Regions from separate parts of the Homo sapiens genome. Here all the other regions are linked to region 3. The links are contacts of gene promoters, found by promoter capture Hi-C in human tissues and cell types (Jung and others, 2019). All regions are on one chromosome and are shown on one strand. The core of a region is centred on a gene start or on the middle of the fragment in contact, and the rest is flanking DNA. Distances in the headings are between cores, read along the strand shown. Region 1 overlaps TSNAXIP1 (translin associated factor X interacting protein 1). Region 2 overlaps NFATC3 (nuclear factor of activated T cells 3). Region 3 holds the start of DPEP3 (dipeptidase 3). Region 4 overlaps NFATC3 (nuclear factor of activated T cells 3). Region 5 overlaps NFATC3 (nuclear factor of activated T cells 3).

The links. Contacts are between HindIII fragments. The study calls those that stand out against the background at their distance.
Region 1: a contact is called between a fragment that was not itself captured here and the fragment with the promoter of DPEP3 in region 3, in 1 of the 25 tissues and cell types used here (pancreas).
Region 2: a contact is called between a fragment that was not itself captured here and the fragment with the promoter of DPEP3 in region 3, in 3 of the 25 tissues and cell types used here (dorsolateral prefrontal cortex, lymphoblastoid cells and spleen).
Region 4: a contact is called between a fragment that was not itself captured here and the fragment with the promoter of DPEP3 in region 3, in 2 of the 25 tissues and cell types used here (bladder and thymus).
Region 5: a contact is called between a fragment that was not itself captured here and the fragment with the promoter of DPEP3 in region 3, in 1 of the 25 tissues and cell types used here (aorta).

What each region holds. Positions count from the first base shown.
Region 1 is chr16:67,816,559-67,821,160 of GRCh38, reverse strand. TSNAXIP1 (translin associated factor X interacting protein 1) reads right to left here. Exons shown (of 16, transcript NM_001288990.3): 3 at 210-322; 4 at 1-62. Among named protein-coding and RNA genes, the nearest start is that of TSNAXIP1, 12 kb to the right of the region's middle. RefSeq lists a silencer at 3,861-4,043. The HindIII fragment of the contact is 4,075 bases long and covers 1-3,334 here.
Region 2 is chr16:68,145,812-68,150,323 of GRCh38, reverse strand. The region is part of intron 3 of NFATC3 (nuclear factor of activated T cells 3); the gene reads right to left. Among named protein-coding and RNA genes, the nearest start is that of NFATC3, 63 kb to the right of the region's middle. The HindIII fragment of the contact is 8,254 bases long and covers 1-4,512 here.
Region 3 is chr16:67,978,053-67,982,146 of GRCh38, reverse strand. It overlaps DPEP3 (dipeptidase 3), which reads left to right and starts at 1,648. Exons shown (of 10, transcript NM_001370198.1): 1 at 1,648-2,053; 2 at 2,382-2,508; 3 at 3,521-3,650; 4 at 3,739-3,880. The coding sequence starts at 1,767. RefSeq lists an enhancer at 1,824-2,324. The HindIII fragment of the contact is 8,829 bases long and covers 1-4,094 here.
Region 4 is chr16:68,207,364-68,211,414 of GRCh38, reverse strand. All of the region lies in intron 9 of NFATC3 (nuclear factor of activated T cells 3), which reads right to left. It also overlaps the pseudogene RPS12P27. Among named protein-coding and RNA genes, the nearest start is that of MIR6773, 24 kb to the left of the region's middle. RefSeq lists an enhancer at 202-271. The HindIII fragment of the contact is 3,682 bases long and covers 758-4,051 here.
Region 5 is chr16:68,109,562-68,113,718 of GRCh38, reverse strand. The region is part of intron 1 of NFATC3 (nuclear factor of activated T cells 3); the gene reads right to left. Among named protein-coding and RNA genes, the nearest start is that of NFATC3, 26 kb to the right of the region's middle. The HindIII fragment of the contact is 6,107 bases long and covers 1-4,157 here.

The DNA.
Region 1 (4,602 bases), core at 48-2,547, 160 kb after region 3:
AGTTTTCCAGTTCCTCCAAGTACTGGGGCTTGGCAGTGCGAAAGGGGTGCTGCTGGCAGCTCCTGCAGGGGACAGTGGCTGATATGTGGCCAGCACCCCCACGGGGCCCTTGTGCCCTCAGTCTGGGGCAACACACGCCCCTGCCCTGTCTCCTGGCCCAAAGCCTGGCCCATGCCAGCTCACCCACCATGGGACTGACCCTGGCTTACCCTACTCGCTTCCGGTAGTCATCTGAACAGGGTTTTCGATTTTGCAAAATGGTCTGGCCACTGGTGTATGTGGGCCATGGGGACAGGTGCCCACCCATGGAGAACTGACCAGTCTGCAGGGAGGTACAGGTGGGGTTGCCATGGCAACATTGCTCCCCTTCCTAATGTTTCTCTCCATCTCTCCTCCCCCAGTCCTGACTTTTTTTTTTTGAGACAGTCTTGCTCTGTTGCCCAGGCTGGAGTGTGGTGGCACGATCTTGGCTCACTGCAACCTTCGCCTCCCAGGTTCAAGCTGTTCTCTGCCTCAGCCTCCCGAATAGTTGAGATTACAAGCACCCACCACCACACCCATCTAATTTTTGTATTTTTAGTAGAGACGTGGTTTCACCATCTTGGCCAGGCTGGTCTTGAACTCTTAACCTCGTGATCCACCCACTTTGGCCTCCCAAAGTGCTGGGATTACAGGCGTGAACCACTGTGCCTGGCCAGCCCTGATGTGTTTTACAAACATCTCTCAACATGGTTCATAATTAAGACTGTGGGTTCTTGAGTTAGAGAAGACTCGGGTTAAGTCTCAAATGTCCCTTATTAGCTATGTCACAACTTCTCTGAGCCTTAGTTCTCACGTCTGTAAAATAGGGATGATGGTAGTCTTTGTCACAGTGTATTGATGTGAGGATGCAGTGAGAAAGCATAGTCGGGCGCGGTGGCTCACGCCTGTAATTCCCAGCACTTTCGGAGGCTGAGGTGGGTGGATCACGAGGTCAGGAGATCGAGACTATCCTGGCTAACACGGTGAAACCCCGTCTCTACTAAAAATACAAAAAAAAATTAGGCCGGGCATGGTGGCTCACGCCTGTAATCCCAGCACTTTGCAAGGCCAAGGCGGATGGATCACGAGGTCAGGAGATCGAGACCATCCTGGTTAACACAGTGAAACCCCGTCTCTACTAAAAATACAAAAAATTAGCCGGGCGTGGTGTCGGACACCTGTAGTCCCAGCTACTCTGGAGGCTGAGGCAGGAGAATGGCATGAACCCAGGAGGCGGAGTTTGCAGTGAGCCAAGATTGCGCCACTGCACTCCAGCCTGGCGACAGAGCGAGACTCAGTCTCAAAAAAAAAAAAAAAAAAAAAATTTAGCCAGGTGTGGTGGCATGTGCTTATAGTCCCAGCTACTCAGGAGGCTGAGGCAGGAGAATCCCTTGAACCCGGGAAGCGGAGGTTGCGGTGAGCTGAGATTGCACCATTGCACTCCAGCCTGGACAACAAGAACAAAACTCTGTCTCAAAAAAAAAAAAAAAAAAAGAGGGAAAGCATAATGTGTGCTTCACATGGACCCTGGTACTTGCTAGGAACTCAGTAAAGATTAGCTATTCTGGCCGGGCACAGTGGCTCATGCCCGTAATCCCAGCAGTTTGGGAGGCCAAGATGTGCGACTTTTAGCACTTTGAGGCCAAGGTGGGCAGATCACTTGAGGTCAGGAATTTGAGACCAGCCTGGCCAACATGGTGAAACTCCATCTCTACTAAAAATACAAAAATTAGCCGGGCATGGTGGCACACGCCTGTATTCCCAGTTACTCGGGAGGCTGAGGCAGGAGAATCGCTTGAACTCGGGAGGCAGAGGTTGCAGTGAGCTGGGATCGACCCCTTGCACTCCAGCCACGGGGACAAGAGTGAAACTCCATCTCAAAAAAAAAAAAAAAAGACTATCAAAATGGATGTAATTATTTATGTATGTATGTTTATATGTATGTATTTATTTATTTATTTGAGATGGAGTTGCCAAGCTGGAGTTGCCCAAGCTGGAGTGCAGTACAGTAGCACGATCTCTGCTCACTGCAGCTCTGCCTCTTGAGTTCAAGCAATTCTCCTGCCTCAGACTCCCGAGTAGCTGGCCTGCCACCATGCCCAGTTCTTTTGTATTTTTAGTAGAGATTACAAGTGTGAGCCATCGCGCCCAGCTCACGCCTGATTCCCAGCACTTTGGGAGGCGGAGGCAAGCGGATAACCTGAGGCCAGGAATTTGAGGCCAGCCTGGCCAACATGTTGAAACCCCATCTCTACTAAAAATACAAAAATTAACCAGGCCTGGTAGTGCACGCCTGTAATCCCAGCTATTTCGGAGGCCGAGGCAGAAGAATTGCCTCAACCCTGGAGGCAGAGGCCACAGTGAGCAGACATGGCACGACTGTACTCCAGTCTGGGCGACAGAGAGAGACTCTGTCTCAAAAAAAAAAAAAAAAAAGGATGGGGTCTCACTATGTTGCCCACGCTGGGCTTCTCGAACTGTCCTGGGATCAAGAGATCCTCCTACCTTGTCCTCCCAAAGTGCTGGGATTACAGGCTTGAGTCATGATGCCCAGCCTAATTTTTATAAAAGCACAAAATAACCCTGGAAGACACCTGGGAGTTTATTTTTTATTTTTTTCTTAGAGACAGGGTCTTACTCTGTCACCCAGGCTGGAGTGCAGTGACCCAATAACACCTCACAGTAACTACAAACTCCCGGGCTCAAGAGATCCTCCCACCTCAGTCTCCTGAGTAGCTAGGACTACATGGGCACACCACCATTCCTGGTTAATTTAAAAAATCTTTTTTGTAGAGATGAAATCTCCCTGTGTTGCCAGGCTGGTCTCAAACTCCTGGTCTCAAGCAGTCTTCCTTCTTTGGCCTCCCAAAGTGTTAGGATTACAGGTGTGAGCCAGCCTTGTTTTTCAGAATTTTATTTATTTATTTTTTTGAGACTGAGTCTCGCTCTGTCGCCCAGGCTGGGGTGCAGTGGCACAATCTCTGCTCACTGCAGCCTCCACCTCCTGGGTTCAAGTGATTGTCCTGCCTCAGCCTCCCGAGTAGCCGGAATTACAGGCGCATGCCACCACGCCCAGCTAATTTTTGTATTTTTAGTAGAGATGGGGTTTCACCATGTTGGCCAGGCTGGTCTTGAACTCCTGACCTAGTGATCTGCCCACCTCAGCCTCCCAAAATGCTGGGATTACAGGTGTGAGCCACTGCGCCCGGCCCAGACTATTTTTTATTATTTGTTTTTATTTATTCATTTATTTTGAGACGGAGCCTCACTCTGTTGCCCAGGCTGGAGCGCAGTGGCACTATCTTGGCTCACTGCAACCTCCACCTCCCAAGTTCAAGCAATTCTCCTGCCTCAGCCTCCCGAAGAGACTGCAGGCACGCACCACCACACCCGGCAAATTTTGTATTTTTAGTAGAAACGGAGTTTCACCATGTTGCCCAGGGTGGTCTTGAACCCCTGACCTCAGGTGATCCACCCACTTCGGCCTCCCAAAGTGCTGGGATTACAGGCGTGAGCCACCGCGCCCGGCCGTTTTTCAGACTTGTAAAAGACCAGTCCTTGGCCGGGCGCGGTGGCTTACGCTTGTAATCCCAGCACTTTGGGAGGCCAAGGCGGGCAAATCACGAGGTCAGGAGACGGAGACCATCCTGGCTAACACGGTGAAACCCTCGTCTCTACTAAAAACGCAAAAAATGGCCGGGCGCGGTGGCTCACGCCTGTAATCCCAGCACTTTGGGAGGCCGAGGCGGGTGGATCACGAGGTTAGGAGATCGAGACCACGGTGAAACCCCGTCTCTACTAAAAATACAAAAAAAAAAAAAAAATAGCCGGGCGCGGTGGCGGGCGCCTGTAGTCCCAGCTACTCAGGAGACTGTGGCAGGAGAATGGCGTGAACCCGGGAGGCGGAACTTGCAGTGAGCCGAGATCGCGCCACTGCACTCCAGCCTGGGCGACAAAGCAAGACTCTGTTTCAAAAAAACAAAAAACAAAAAAAAAACCGCAAAAAATTAGCCAGGTGTGGTGACACGTGCCTGTAGTCCCAGCTACTAGGGAGGCTGAGGCAGGAGAATCGCTTGAACCTGGGAGGTGGAGGTTGCAGTGAGCCAAGACTGTGCCACTGCGCTCCAGCCTGGGCGAGGAGCGAGGCTCCGTCTCAAAAAATAAATTAATTAATATTAAAAAAAAAAAAAAAGACCAGTCCTCGTGTTCTGTCTACTGTTTCTACCGGGAGAAAATGTGGCTACCCTCCTTTGCTTGCAGAGGCGAGTGGAAGCTGGAGAACCAGCTGCCAGGGCCGGGTCTCGGCTAGGTTATTAACAGCTGAGGGATCTCCGCCCGGGTGGCTGGAACGCAGTGCTCCCGGGCGCTCCGTGCTCTCTGCTTCCCCCTGTAGGTAAAAACGGGAAGGCGGCCCCGGAGGGACGGCGGGAGGGAACACTGCCCCCTGGTGGTTGATGCCGCGCAAAAGAAAGAATGAAAAAGCCTGGCCCACAGAAGGTGGCAGCTGAGAAGGGTGCCCGGGAGCCTCAGAGCTCTCCCCTAGTCATCAGGTTTTTGGGCTGCGCTTGGTCTCTGCGAATA
Region 2 (4,512 bases), core at 210-2,709, 170 kb before region 3:
ATTACGGGCATGAGCCACTGTGCCTGGCCTAATTGTATTATCTTTAAATCTCCATTTCAAGTTAATAAAGTAGCATTACAAAATGGATGTGGGGCTTTTTTTGAGAGTGGGGCTGGGTCTGATAGAGCTGAGAGACACTGATCTAGAAGACTTGTAACCAAAGAGGCACAAAGACCTCAGGATATAACCACCAAAGGTTTATAATAATGTTTTGCAACGGGCAAGATTCTTTATTATAATTCATACTGCAGAAACAATTCCAGATTCAAGGAAGATGACAAATCGTAATTCCAACTACCCTTCTCAAAGGATATAAGTAGAGCATATAAAGCAGGGAAAAACAGCTAATAAATAAATGGAAAAATGCTCAATCTTATTAAATATCAAATAAATAAGAAAACTACTTCTAACCTATCAAAAAAGCAAAGAACAGAGAAGTGGTAATAGTCTACACAGACAACTTTTCCCCTTTGTGGCTGTTTATATGATTTGCTCATTTTCTGTTTCTATTTTAGTATTATTAATTTTACAAGCCCTTTAGATATACTAAGCATATTAACCCTTTGTCTGCCTTACAAGTTATAAATATGGTTTTGTTTTCCATTTATCACCAATTCTGGATCAATTTCTGCTCCTCAGAAGGGAACCATTTGTAACCCTTTTCACTGTTTCTTTTGGAACTTACTTCCATATTTCTAAGGAACATGTTAATACTGCTATTTCCTAATGTTTTTCAAGGTTAGATATATTATCTTTTGAACTTTCAGTGTTTGCATTATAACTGGATACATGTTACTTGCAGCTCAGCCTTGTAGTGTATTTTAATTATATTTCCTTTTTCATACAACTTATTTGGTTACAGTTAATAATTGCCTTTTATATTAGGATTAAGTTTGGCTGCATAAACAAAAATCCAAAGTAACAGTAATTTAAACATGTTAAAAGTAAAGTTTATTTCTTAGAATCTACAGGTCTCTTCTACTGGACCAGTGAGTTTGCCTAAAACACATCCTGCAGTCTTCTGCCTAGGGAGCATAGTAAACCTATTGCAAGCATTGTGGGAACTAATAAAATGGTCAGAGGTCTCACTCTTCAGTATGCAGACTTCCATTATGCCTTCCCTTCCGCCCCCACCCCATTTTAAGAACAGATCATTAAGCCTAGCCTTTAGCTCTCCTAGAATCTAGAACCTCCACTTCATTCTCTCTATAGAATCACCAGATTCTCTCAGGGTAAGACAGGCATTATCACTAGGCTGTACCACACAGGAAAGAAACATCTGGGAAATTTAAGTCCTTTTTAAATTCAATTTAATTTTTTTTTCTTTTAAGATGGAGTCTCGCTGTGTTGCCCAGGCTGGAGTGCAGTGGTGCTGCAACCTCCACCTCCCAGGTTCAAGCAATTCTTCTGCCTCAGCCTCCTGAGTAGCTGGAACTACAGGCATGAGCCACCATGCCCGGCTAATTTTTTTGTATTTTTAGTAGAGACAGGGTTTCACCATGTTGGCCAGGTGGTCCCAAACTCCTGTCCTCAAATGATCCACCCGCCTCAACCTCCTAAGGTGCTAGGATTACAGGTGTGAACCACCGTGCCCGGTCTTAACTCCTTCTTTTATAGACTTTTTATCCAATCTTCTTGTTTTCAGTCTCACCTCACATCCCACTTTCAGAGATATCCAGTACGTCAAATTCCTGAACCTTTCCAGAGTTCTCAGATGCAAAATGACTTGTGCTGCTTGCTTATTGGTTCTTTCTCACCTGCCAGCAGGCTTAAGCTACAGCTGTCTTATGTTTAGTGAAAGTAAACCTGTTCAATTTATTACATTTATGTTTCCATTTTCTGTAAATATTTTAATTTTTATGTAGTCAAGAAATCTATCAGTATTCTCATTTGTAATTTTTTTACACATTTTAGTGTAAAATTAATAAATTTCAAAGCTTTAATTATGGAAACTATTCCATAAAACTATAAAATGTCAATATCATCACAATAACAAAAATAAAGCCTAGGTCAGGCACGGTGGCTCACACCTGTAATCCCAGCACTTTGGGAGGCCTAGGCAGGTGGATCACCCGAGGTCGGGAGTTCGAGACCAGCCTGACCAACATGGAGAAACCCCATCTCTACTAAAAATACAAAATTAGCCGGGCATGGTGGCGAATGCCTCTAATCCCAGCTACTCAGGAAGACTGAGGCAGGAGAATCGCTTGAACCCAGGAGGCGGAGGTTGCAGTGAGCCGAGATCGCGCCATTGCACTCCAGCCTGGAGTGCAAAACAAGAGCAAAACTCCATCTCTAAATAAATAAATAAATAAATCCTAAATAAATCAATAGCTAAAAGGAAACTGGAAAAGTTTGGGCATATATTTTATGTGTATCTGTGCAAAAACAAATTTCAGCCATTACTCTTTTGGTTTATCTGGCGGCAGATGGGGTAAGTAATAATGCCACGTGAGATTCATCCAGATTTATACCCAGAGGTAAAAAAAAATGAAGGTAGAGAGTGGTTATAGTTCACTGCATCCAAAAACTCCTGTGGACTATATGTCTTTTTTTTTTTTTTTTTTTCAGTTCACAGATAATCTGAAGCTAACAATGATTAGGCAACTTCCTCACATTCATCTATTCAGTGATTAGTCATTCCTTTTTGGTATACCTGTTGCTCTTTCATGTTTAATCATAAATTTAACAAATTATTCTACATGACCAACTGTTCATCAAGTGGAGAAATAAACAGCAACAACTTTACCACTTGCCTGTGAGCACTGTGAAGAGGACAGTATCCATCTTGTTATCTCCAGAGCCTAGCAGAGCGCCTAGCACATTACAGGCATTCAATCATTGTTGAAAGAATAAATTTTAGAATAACAGAGTACAATTTGGTGAAGCAAAATAACTCATGAAGTTAGTCAATACATTATTTCTAAAAGAACTGTAGGCAATTTGCTCTTATATAGAAAAAGAAAAAACCAACAAAAAAATTATAGGCATTAAAGTAGCTCGTCAAAATGAGGTAGTTAAATCTAAAATAGAGAATATAAATAAAAAAGTTTGCTATTACCTATTAAGTTATCCAGATATCAAATAACATACTGGCAAGTACTCTATACCAAAGAATCCTAGTCATATTAGATGGCTGACATGTATAAGAGCTTCACAAAGTCATAAGCCACTTGCTTTTTATACTTTGATAAAATAAACTGATGTTGGGGGAAGGTAATCACTCATATAAGATTTCAAAGGGAATATATTTCATAACACATATTTTGACCAACATCTGTTCCAGATGTATAATACCATAAGAAAAATAGGGCTATGCCTTTCTATCTGAGAGACTTTTAAAGGAAGATCAAATAAACTAATTAGACTATTATCCCATCTGATTTCCAGAGAAGCATTTATGTTGTAGGCAATAAATAAATTACTACTACTGTTAACACTAGTCTCTAAAAACTTTCACCAGTATCAGTAATCTCTTCAGTCCACCCTCTGCTTCGCAGAAGAAAGTAAGCCAAGTTGTTTGTTATGTTTCTGTATCGTTTCCATAGCAAAGGTCTGTGCCTGCTTAATTTAACTAAAGCTGGAGGGTTAAAGCCTGAAGGTCACTACAGGACAGACTACAGCAACTTCAATAAGAGCAGTTCCATTATCAGTTCTGCTGATTAGTTGGGGGAATGGGCTCTAAATATATTAGACCCATGACAACACATTGTAGAAATACTAAAAATACAAAATTAAATTTCTATAATATAAATTGCTTAAAATGAAAGTATGCATAAAAATGAAAAAATAATACAAACTTCATTTTTCAAATTTCAGTAACTTTTGGGATAAGATTCAAAATATGTATACCTTAATAAAACTTACCACTGTATAATATATAAGCTTTTTAAAAAAAATCCTTTTTTTTTTTCTTTTGGGAGACAAGGTCTTGCTATGTTGCCCAGGCTGGCCTTAAACTCCTGGGCTCAAGCAGTGATCCTCTTGCCTCAGTCTCCCAAGTAACTGGGATTACAGAATCACATCACTACACCTGGCTAAAACTTTTATTCTTCTTAAATAATTAGACTCATAGGAAGTTGCAAAAATAGTATGTATATGTACTACAGGTTGAATATCCCTAATCTGAAAATCCAGAATGCTCCAAAATCTGAAACTTTCTGAGCACTGATATGACACCCAAAGTAAATGCTCACTGGAACATTTTGGAATTCAAATTTTTGAATCAGGGATGCTCAACCAGTATGTATTCTGGAAATATTCCAAAATTTGAAAAAATCCAAAATCTAAGACACTTCTGACTTCTGATCCCAAGCAGACAAGGGATACTATAGCCCCATGTACCCTGCACCTAGTTTCCCCCAACTATAATACAGTACATATACCCACAATATTGAACTGTAGTTAGCACAGTATCAAAACCAGGACATTGACACTGATACAATACTGCTAACTAGACTACAGGTCTTATTCAGTTGTCATTGTTCTACATGCATTCATTTGTATGTGTGT
Region 3 (4,094 bases), core at 399-2,898:
GTGCCGAGAGGGAGCGAGGGCTGTGAGGGCTGCCAGCACGCTGTCACCTCTCATTTTTGTGTCTGTATACTAACATATATATAGAAAAAAATATTCGGCCCGGTGCGGTGGCTCACGCCTGTAATCCCGGAACTTTGGGAGGCCAAGGTGGGCGGATCACGAGGTCAGGAGATCAAGACCATCCTGGCTAACACGGTGAAACCCGGTCTCTACTAAAAATACAAAAAATTAGCTGGGCATGGTGGTGGGCGCCTGTAGTCCCAGCTACTCGGGAGGCTGAGGCAGGAGACTGGCATGAACCCGGGAGGCGGAGCTTGCAGTGAGCAGAGATGGAGCCACTGCACTCCAGCCTGGGTGGCACAGTGAGACTCCGTCTCAAAAAAAAAACCACGTCTCTAAAAAAGAAATAAGGCCGGACGTGGTGGCTCATGCCTGTAATCCTAGCACTTTGGGAGACCTAGGTGGGCAGATCGCTTGAGCTCAGGAGTTCAAGACCAGTCTGGGCAACATGGTAAAACCCTGTCTCTAAAAAAAAATGCAAATATACAAAAATTAGCTGGGCATGGTGGTGCATGCCTGTAGTCCCTCCCAGCTACTTAGGGAGCTGAAGCAGGAGGATCACTTTTACCTGGGAGGTCGAGGCTACAGTGAGCTGAGATGGTGCCACTGCACTCCAGTGAGACCCTGTCTCAAAAAAAAATTTGTTTTAATAAAATAAAAAATAACAATTAGCCATGCATGGTGGCACTGCACCTATAGTCTCAGCTACTTGGGAGGTGGAGGAAGGAGGATCGCTTGAGCTCAGAAGTTCAAGGCTGCAGCAAGCTATGATCAAGGCTGCAGCAAGCTATGATCACCCCACTGCAACTCCAGCCTGGGTGACAGATACTCTGTCTCTTGGAGAAGGAAAAAAAGCTAAAATAATGATCCCCAACAAAAATTGTTCTTAAATTTCATTTTCGGGGCCGGGCACGGTGGCTCACGCCTGTAATCCCAGCACTTTGGGAGGTCGAGGCAGGAGGATCACTTGAGGTCAGGAGTTCAAGGCCAGCCTGGCCAACATGGTAAAACCCCATCTCTACTGAAAATACAAAAATTAGCTGGGCATGGTGGCGGGCACCTGTAATCCCAGCTACTCGGGAGGCTGAGGCAGGAAAATGGCTTGAACCCGGGACGTGGAGGTTGCAGTGAGCCGAGACTGCATCATTGCACTCCAGCCTGGGCAACAAGACCCAAACTCCGTCTCAAAACTGAAATGAGATGAAATGAAATAATGAAATGAAATGAAATGAAATGAAATGAAATGAAATACCTATAGGGAATCTTTCTGTCCATCAAACCAGACAGACCGAATTAACTCTTCTGAGTCGCAGCTTAGAATATTTGACCTGCCTAGGAGCTGGGCACAAGCCGGCAGCTAACCGCCACGTGGGCCTGGGTAGGAGGTGAGATCAGGAAGATCCCTGGGCCCCTACTAGTTCCCTGCCTGGCCTCCTCCCCCACTCGTGTGGGGGTCTACGGAGCCAGCGCTGGGGGTGGAAGGGCGAGGAGTCCTCGACGCTGCAGCGGCGGTTCCGGCCCATGGGGGCGCTCTCCTGCTTGGGGGCGGAAAAGCCGTGGCGCCCCCTTGCGTGGCGCGTCGGTCTCAGAGTCGCGTGACTTCAACCCCCTCTTCGGGAGGCTGGGTCGTCATGATCCGGACCCCATTGTCGGCCTCTGCCCATCGCCTGCTCCTCCCAGGCTCCCGCGGCCGACCCCCGCGCAACATGCAGCCCACGGGCCGCGAGGGTTCCCGCGCGCTCAGCCGGCGGTATCTGCGGCGTCTGCTGCTCCTGCTACTGCTGCTGCTGCTGCGGCAGCCCGTAACCCGCGCGGAGACCACGCCGGGCGCCCCCAGAGCCCTCTCCACGCTGGGCTCCCCCAGCCTCTTCACCACGCCGGGTGTCCCCAGCGCCCTCACTACCCCAGGCCTCACTACGCCAGGCACCCCCAAAACCCTGGACCTTCGGGGTCGCGCGCAGGCCCTGATGCGGAGTTTCCCACTCGTGGACGGGTATGTAGGTGCAGCGTTTGGGCAACGCGGGGTGAGCACACCCTTGGGCAGGAGAGGAGGTTCTGAGCATGCTATCAAGGAGGCTATCAAGGAGGCTCCCTCACACCACCCCTGGATGCCCTCTCTCCTCCATCACCCATGGGTGCCCTTCCCCGCATTACTCCATTCCTGGTGGAATCTAACCCCCTCCCTCCAACCCAACCTCAGGAGGTCTCTATATGGTCTGTGTGAGGAGGTGCCTGGTGGGGTGGAGGAGGGTAGACCCAAGCACCTGATATATCCTGACTGATCTGGAGGCGGTGTTTCCATCTGACCTTCACACCCCCAGCCACAATGACCTGCCCCAGGTCCTGAGACAGCGTTACAAGAATGTGCTTCAGGATGTTAACCTGCGAAATTTCAGCCATGGTCAGACCAGCCTGGACAGGCTTAGAGACGGCCTCGTGGGTGCCCAGGTACCACAGGGACACACAGGGTGCCACAGCATGGCTGCTGGGGGATGTTGGGGTCACAGAAACCTGGGTCAGCCAGCCTCTGGGTGACTAAATACAATGGGGCATGCAGTGTGCCATCATGTGGTTTCTAAGGAGAGTGGGGCCTTGGAGGCCAAGACAGGCTAGCTGCATGTATGCCCAGGTTCTGTGGAAACACGCAGAAAATGACCAGAAAATCCCTGGTGAGTGTGGGGTCTGCCGTAACCACAAAGGACATAGTGGATTGGCCTTGGGGCATTCACATAGCACATGGACTAACAGCAGTTTTTTGCTTGTTTGTTTGTTTGCATTTTTGAGACAGTGTCTCCTTCTGTCGCCCAGGCTGGAGTACAGTGGCACGATCTCGGTTCACTGCAACCTCCGCCTCCCGGGTTCAAGCAATTCTCCCTGCCTCAGCCTCCTGAGTAGCTGGGATTACAGGCACTCGCCACCACGCCCTGCTAATTTTTGTAGTTTTAGTAGAGACAGGGTTTTACCATGTTGGCCAGGCTGGTCTCGAACTCCTGACCTCACATGATCCACCCTCCTCGGCCTCCCACAGTGTGGAGATTACAGGCATGAGCCACTTGGCCTGGCCGTAACAGTAATTTATGATGTGTCGTGAGTCCATCATTTGACTGCTGGCAGCAAACAGTCATCAAGGAACCAGGCTCGGTAGTTCACATCTGTAATGCCAACACTTTGGGAGGCTGAGGCAGGAGGATTGTTTGAGCCTGGGGGGTCAAGGCTGCAGTGAGCCATGATCACACCACTGCACTCTAGCCTGGGTGACAGAGCAAGACCCTGTCTCAAATTTTAAAATAAAAATAAAAAATAATTTTAAAAAAAGTCATCAAGGTACCATGGAGTCATGTAGTGCCTCACTTGGGGCCACTGACCCAAATGGGTGTTATGGGGTCTGAGGCAGGAGTGGCAGGCCTAGGGGGTTGAAGACCGCCCTGGCCTCATTCTGGACCCCTTGACCTACCCTCAGTTCTGGTCAGCCTCCGTCTCATGCCAGTCCCAGGACCAGACTGCCGTGCGCCTCGCCCTGGAGCAGATTGACCTCATTCACCGCATGTGTGCCTCCTACTCTGAACTCGAGCTTGTGACCTCAGCTGAAGGTGGGCCAGCAGATGAGAGGTAGTCAGGATGTCACTCTGGAGGTTCTGTTCCTGGGATCTAACCACTTGACTCTCTACCTCCTTCTAGGTCTGAACAGCTCTCAAAAGCTGGCCTGCCTCATTGGCGTGGAGGGTGGTCACTCACTGGACAGCAGCCTCTCTGTGCTGCGCAGTTTCTATGTGCTGGGGGTGCGCTACCTGACACTTACCTTCACCTGCAGTACACCATGGTGAGCATAACACCTGGCCAGGATGCTAGATGGCATGGTGTGGAAACTGCCCCATTCCTGGCATGGGTGTGACCAAGCCGTTGAGGATGAAGGGGTCCGCAGAGGGAGGCTGGACACCCAGTGGGTCCCTCACAATCCCAGAAAGCAGCTGGTTCTGCACCTGTTCTGGAAGCAGGATGGATGGATAGAGCCAGGGCCCCCAGGCTGTGATGGC
Region 4 (4,051 bases), core at 1,349-3,848, 230 kb before region 3:
GGAGATAGAAACCATCCTGGCCAACATGGTGAAACCCCGTCTCTACTAAAAATACAAAAATTAGCTGGGCATAGTGGTGAGTGCCTGTAATCCCAGCTACTCGAGAGGCTGAGGCAGGAGAATGGCGTGAACCCGGGAGGTGGAGGTTGCAGTGAGCTGAGATCGCGCCACTGCACTCCAGCCTGGCGACAGAGCGAGACTCCATCTCAAAACAAAACAAAGAAAAAAGAGTTTCGATTCTTTTGAAACTCTTAAAAAGATTAAAGAAAAGGAAACACTTCCTAACTCATTATGAGGCCAGAATTTACTCTGACACAAAGCCAGAAAAAGATACTATAAGAAAAGAAAAGGCTAGGCACAGTGGCTTACACCTGGGAGGCTAAGGTGGGTGGATCACGAGGTCAGGAGTTCGAGACCAGCCTGGCCAATATGGTGAAACCCCATCTCTACTAAAAATACAAAAAAATTAGCCGGGCATGGTGGTGCGCACTTGTAGTCCCAGCTACTCGGGAGGCTGAAGCAGAAGAATCGCTTGAACTGGGGAGGCAGAGGTTGCAGTGAGCCGAGGTCACACCACTGCATTCCTGCCTGAGCGACAGAGCAAGACTCCATCTCAAACAAACAAAAAAACAAAAAAACTACAGAATATTCTTTATGAATATAGATGCAAAAATCAACAAAACACTAACACAATTCAGCAGCATATTAAAAGGATGATACATTAAGACCAAGTGAGTTTTATTCCCAGAATGCAAGGATGATTCAACAAATGAAAATCAATTAAAGTAATATGCCAAATTAGTTGAACAAAAGAAAAAAAAACATACTCCTGACTGGCATGGGCAACATGGCAAGACCCTACCTCTACAAAAATTAATTTAAAAACCACATGATCATCTCGATAGATGCAGAAAAGTGTTTGTAAAAATTCTTTTATTTTTTTTGAGACAAGGTGTCACTCTGTCACCAAGGCTGGTGTGCAGTGGCACAATAATGGCTCACTGCAGCCTCTACCTCCCAGGCTCAAGCAATCCTCCCACTTCAGCTTCCCAAGTATTTGGGACCACAGCACCTGGCTAATTTTTTGTATTCTTTTTTTTTTTCTTTTTTTTTTTTTGAGAAGGAATCTCACTCTGTCGCCCAGGCTGGAGCGCAGTGGCATGATCTTGGCTCACTGCAAGCTCCGCCTTCCGGGTTCACGCCATTCTCCTGCCTCAGCCTCCCGAGTAGCTGGGACTACAGGTGCCCGCCACCATGCCCAGCTAATTTTTTTGTATTTTCAGTAGAGATGGAGTTTCACTGTGTTAGCCAGGATGGTCTCAATGTCCCGACCTCGTGATCCGCCCACCTCGGCCTCCCAAAGTGCTGGGATTACAGGCGCGAGCCACTGCACCTGGCCATTTTTTGTATTTTTAGCAGAGATGGGATTTCATGTTGCCCAGGCTGGTCTTGAACTCTTGGGCTCGAGCAATCTGCCCACCTCGGCCTCCCAAAGTGCTAGGACTACAGGATTGAGCCAACATGCCCAGAGTGAGTGTGACTGTGAGTGTGTGTGTGTGTGTGTCTGTGTGTGTGTTGGGGGGCAGGGGGGTTAGCCAGAGTTTTATTCGTTCATTTCTTGCATTTGAAGTACTTCAACTACTACACAACTGCAACGAACCACTTTACGGGGTTTCCCCTCTCTGTCAATTTTACAGAGACCTAACCATTCCCCCTAGCTTCTTGTCATCAACCTTAAGTAGGTTGATTTGGTGTTCAGCACAAAGAACCTCTATGAACTTGACATAGGCTCATCACAGTTGGATGCAAACACACAAAAGATGGGCCTGACCCTTCAGCAGCTTTGCAAATTCCACGTGCTAGGCCATCATGGGTGAGGACAGTCTTCAACACCTCTTGTAAAGCAGTATTAACAGCCACCACACCTCCAGCAGCAACACCTTCCGTGGCCATGGTGGTGGTCTACGGGTGAAGCTGAATCTTGAATGCACCCAAGCCTCTGCCTCCACTCAACTCAGCAGTGGCAGGGAAAGAACTCTTTTTCTTTGAGACGGTCTCACTCTGTTGCCCAGGCTGGAGTGCAGTAGCATCCCAATCACGGCTCACTGCAGCCTCCACCTCCTGGGTTCTAGCTATCTGCCCGCCTCAGCCTCCCAAAGTGCTGGTATCACAGGCGTGAGCCACCGTGCCCAACTCATTTATCAAAATTCAATGCTCTTTCAAGATGAAAACATTCAATAAACAAAGAATAGAAGGAATTTCCTCAATATGAAAAAGGCCATATATGAAAAACTGTTAGTTCCTATCATTATCAACAAAGAACAAAAGCTTTCCCCCTAAGATCACAAACAAAGCAAAGATGCCCACTCTTTCACCACTTCTACTAGCCTACCACTAGAAGTTCTAGCCAGAGCAATTAGGTTAGAAAAATAAATAAATACATAAAGCCCATCCAAATTAAAAAGGAAGAGAGAAAATTATCTCTATTCACGAATGGCATGATAGTATAAACATAAAACTCTAAAGAATCCACACAGACAAAAAAATGTTAGCACTAACAAATAAAGTCACCAAAGTGGCAGAATATAGAATCAACACACAATATTCAGTTGTACTTCTATATACTTGGAATGAAAGGTCCAAAAAAAATTAAGAAAACAATTCTTGTTTTGGGGTTTTTTTTTTTGGTTTGTTTTTGAGACGGAGTCTCAGGCTGGAGTGCAGTGGCATAATCTTGGTTCACTCCAACTTCTGTCTCCCAGGTTCAAGCGATTCTCCTGCCTCAGTCCCACAAATAGCTGGGATTACAGGCATATGCCACCACACCCAGCTAATTTTTGTATTTTTAGTAGAGACAGAGTTTCCCCATGTTGGCCAGGTGGGCCCACGTTAGCCAGGTTGGTCTTGAACTCCTGAACTCAGGTGATCAGCCTGCCTCAGCCTCCCAAAGTGCTGGGATTACAAGTGTGAGCCGCTGTGCCCAATCTTAAGAAAAACAATTCTATTTACAGTGGCATCAAAAAGAATAAAATACTTAGGAATTAACCAAAGAGGCATAAGATTTCTACATTGAAAACTAGACCGGGCATGGTGGCTCATGCCTATAACCCTGCACTTTGGGAGGCTAAGGCGGGTGGCTCACCTGAGGTCAGGAGTTTGAGACCAGCCTGACTAATATGGAGAAACCCCATCTCTAATAAAAATACAAAAAATTAGCCAGGCGTGGTGGTGTGAGCCTGTAAACCCAGCTACTCAGGAGGCTGAGGCAGGAGAATCGCTTGAACTTGGGAGGTGGAGGCTGCAGTGAGCCAAGGTCATGCCACTACACTCCAGCTTGGGTGACACAGCCAGATTCCGTCTCAAAAATAAATAAATAAATAAAATAAAGGATTTGGATAGACAAGAAAATATACAAATGGACAACAGGCACATGAAAAGATGCTCAACACCATTAGTCAATAGGGAAATGCAAATCAAAATTATAATGAATATAACTTAATACCCAGTAGGATGGCTATTATTTTAAAAATGGAAAATAACATGTGTTGGCAAGGGTATAAAGAAACTGAAAGCCTTATACATTGTAAATGTAAAATGGTGTGGCTGCTGTAGGATTAAAAAAAATAGTGGTTCCTCAAAAAGTTGAACATGGAGGCTGGGCTTGGTGGCTCACGCCTGCAATCCCAGCACTTTGGGAGGCTGAGGAGGGTGGGTGACCTGAGGTCAGAAGACAGATCAGTGTGGCCAACATGGTGAAACCCCGTTTTTACTAAAAATACAAAAATTAGCTGGGCGTGATGGCACATGCCTGTAATCCCAGCTACTCAGGAGGCTGAGGCATGAGAATCGCTTCAACCCAGGAGGCAGAGACTTCAGTGAGCCCAGATCGCACCACTGCACTCCAGCCTGGGTGACAGAGTGGGACTCCATCTCAAAAAGAAAGTTGAACACAGAATTACCATAGGACCCAGCAATTCCACTCTTACGTAAACACACAAAAGTACTGAAAAGAGGGACTCAAACAGTATGTATGCCAGTGTTCACAGCAGCA
Region 5 (4,157 bases), core at 212-2,711, 130 kb before region 3:
GGGTAGGGGTGGTCATGGTCTCATGGTTCAGCTGACCTAGTCTTTCCTGCCTGTTGGCAGTCCAGATGAGGGGAATTCTCCCCAGCACAGCCGAACCTGCTCAGCCAAGGGGCAGTCAGACTGCTTCTTTAAGCAGGTTCCTGATCCCATCCCTCCTGACTGGGTGAGACCTCCCAACTGGGGTCACCAGGCACCTGATACAGGAGCGTTCCAGCCAGCATCAGCTCCGTGCCTTCTGGGATGAAGCTCCCAGAGGAGGAGGCAGCCATCTTTGCTGTTCTGCAGCCTCCACTGCTTATACCTCCAGGTGCAGGAGGGGGTAGATGAATTAGGTCAGGAGTGGTCCCCTAGTAAACTGCAGCAGCCCTACCCTATGGAAGAGGGGCCTTACTATTAAAAGAAAAACAAACAGAAAGCAACAACAACAACATCAACACAAAAGATCCCACAAAAACCCTATCCAAAGGTCAGCAGCCTCAAAGATCAAAGGCAGATAAATCCACAAAGATGAGAAAGAATCAATGCAAGAACGCTGAAATCTCAAAGAGCCAGAGTGTCTCTTCTCTAAATGATTGCAACACTTCTCCATCAAGGGCAGAGAACTGGGCTGAGGCAGAGAAGAATGAATTGACAGAAGTAGGCTTCAAAAGGTAGGTAATAACAAACTTCGCTGAGCTAAAGGAGTATGTTTTAACCCAAGGCAAAGAAGCGAAAAACCATGATAAAACATTACAGGAGCTGTTAACCAGAATGGCTAGTATACAGAGGAACATAAATGACCTGATTGAGCTGAAAAACACAACAGGAGAGCTTCACAATACAACCACAAGTATCAACAGCTGAACAGACCAGGCAGAGGAAAGGATATCAGAGCTTGAAGACTATCTTGCTAAAATAAGACGGGCAAACAAGGTTAGAGAAAAAAAAAAAATGTCGGGAGGCTGAGGCAGGAGAATGGCGTGAACCCAGGAAGCGGAGCTTGCAGTGAGCCGAGATTGCGCCACTGCAGTCCGCAGTCCGGCCTGGGCGACAGAGCGAGACTCCGTCTCAAAAAAAAAAAAAAAAAAAAAAACGAAAAAGAAAAAATGAAAAGAAATGAACAAAACCTCCAAGAACTATGGGATTATTTAAAAGAATGAACCTGGCTGGGCACAGTGGCTCACGCCTATAATCCCAGCACTTTGGGAGGCCGAGGCGGGTGGATCACGAGACCAGGAGTTCAAGACCAGCCTGGTCAAGATGGTGAAACCCCATCTCTACTAAAAATACAAAAATCAGCCAGGCGTGGTGGTGTGTGCCTGTAGTCCCAGCTACTCGGGCGGCTGAGGCAGAAGGATCGCTTGAACCCAGGAGGTGGAGGTTGCAGTAAGCCAAGATCACGCCACTGCACTCCAGCCTGGGCAACACAGCAAGACTCCATCTCAAAAAAAAAAAAAAAAAAAAAAAAAAAGACTGAACCTACAACTGGGGTACCTGAAAGAGACGGGGAGATCGCATCCAAGTCGGAAAACATACTTCACGGTATCATCCATGAGAACTTCCCCAACCTAGCAAGATAGGCCACCATTCAAATTCAGGAAATTCAGAGAAACCCAGTAAGATACTCCATGAGAAGATCAATCCCAAAACACATTATCATCAGATTCTCCAAGGTTGAAATGAAGGAAAAAATGTTAAGCGCAGGGAGAGAGGACAGATCACCACAAAGGTAAGCCCATCAAACTAACAGTGGACCTCTCAGCAGAAACCCTACAAGCCAGAAGAGATTGGATGCCAATATTCAACATTCTTAGAAAAGAATTTCCAACCCAAATGTCATATCCGGACAAATTAAGCTTCGTAAGTGAAAGAGAAATAAAGTCCTTTTCAGACAAGCAAATAATGAGGGAATTCAGCACCACCAGGTCTGCTTTACAAGAATTCCTGAAGGAAGCACTAAATATGGAAAGCAAAAACCATTATCAGCCACTACAAAAACACACTCAAGTACACAGACGAATGACACTATGAAGCAACTACATTAACACGTCTGCAAAATAACCAGCCAGCATTATGATGACAGGACCAAATTCACACATAACAATATTAACCTTAAAAGTAAATGGACTAAATACCCCAATTAAAATACACAAAATGGTTAGCTGGCTAAAAAGACAAGAACCATTGGTGTGCTGTATTCAAGAGACCCATCTAACATGCAAAGACATGCACAGGCTCAAAATAAAGAGATGGAGGAAAATTTACAAAGCAAATGGAAGGCAGGAAAAAAGCAGGGGTTGCAATCCTAGTTTCTGACAAAACAGATTTTAAACCAACAAGATCAAAAAAAGACAAAGAAGGGCATACAGCATGGTAAAGGGTTCAATTCAACAAGAAGAGCTAACTATCCTAAATATATATGCACCCAATACAGGCACACTCAGTTTCATAAAACAAGTTTTTAGAAACCTACAAAGAGACTTAGACTCCCACACAACAATAGTGGGAGACTTAACACCCCACTGTCAATATCAGACAGATCATCGAGACAAAAAATTAACAAAGATATTCAGGACTTGAGTTCAGCTGTGATCAAGTAGACTTACCCAAAAACAGAATATACATTCTTCTCAGTGCCACATGGCACTTACTCTAGATTCGATCACATACTTGGAAGTAAAACACTCCTCAGCAAATGCAAAAGAAATGAAATCATAACTGTCTCTCAGACCACAGCGCAATCAAATTAGAACTCAACATTAAGAAACTCACTCAAACCCACACAACTACATGGAAATTGAACAACCTGCCCCTGAATGACTTCTGGGTAAAAAATGAAATTAAGGCAGAAATCAAGAAGTTATTTGAAACCAATGAGAACAAAGAGACAATGTACCAGAATCTCTGGGATATAGCTAAAGCAGTGTTAAGAGGGAAATTTATAGCACTAAATGCCCACATCAAAAAGCCAGAAAAAACTCAAATCGACATCCTAATATCACAACTAAAAGACTAGAGAACCAAGAGTAAACAAACCCCAAATCTAGCAGAAGACAAGACATAACCAAGATCAGAGCAGAACTGAAGGAGACAGAGACACAAAAAAACCCTTAAAAAAAAAAATCAGGCTGGGCGCGGTGGCTCACGCCTATAATCCCAGCACTTTGGGAGGCTGAGGCGGGCAGATCACAAGGTCAGGAGATCGAGACCATCCTGGCTAACACGATGAAACCCCGTCTCTACTAAAAAAAAATACAAAAAAAATTAGCCGGGTGTGGTGGTGGGCACCTGTAGTCCCAGCTACTCAGGAGGCTGAGGCAGGAGAATGGCATGAACCCGGGAGGCGGAGCTTACAGTGAGCCGAGATTGGGCCACTGTACTCCAGCCTGGGCAACAGAGCGAGACTTCGTCTCGAAAAAAAAAAAAAAAAATTCAGGCCAGGCACGGTGGCTCACACCTGTAATCCTAGCACTTTGGGAGGCCAAGGCAGGCAGATCACTTGAGGTCAGGAGCTCAAGACCAGCCTGGCTAACATGGTAAAACCCTGTCTCTACTAAAAATACAAAAATTAGCCCAGTGTGGTGGTGGGTGCCTATAATCCCACCTACTCAAGAGGCTGAAGCAGGAGAATTGCTTGAACCCAGGAGGTGGAGGTTGCAGTGAGCCAAGATCGTATCACTGCACTCCAGCCTGAGCAACAGAGTGAGACTCCATCTCAAAACAAACAAACAAACAAAAACAACTCATCCAGGAGCTTGGCTAGGCTAATGAAGAAAAGAGACAAGAATCAAATCAACACAATAAAAAATGATAAAGCAGATATCACCACTGACCCCACAGAAATACAAACCACCACAGAGAATACTATAAACACCTTTATGCAAATAAACTAGAAAACTTAGAAGACACTGATAAATTCCTGGACACATACACCCTCCTAAGACTGAACCAGAAAGAAGCTGAATACCTGAACAGACCAATAATGAGTTATGAAATTGAGGCAGTAATACATAGCCTACCAACCAAAATAAGCCCAGGACCAGAAAGATTTACAGCTGAATTCTACCAGAGGTACAAAGAGAAGCTGGTACCATTTCTTCCGAAACTATTCCAAACAACCGAAAAGGAAGGACTACTCCCTAACTCATTTTATGAGGCCAGCATTATCCTGATACCAA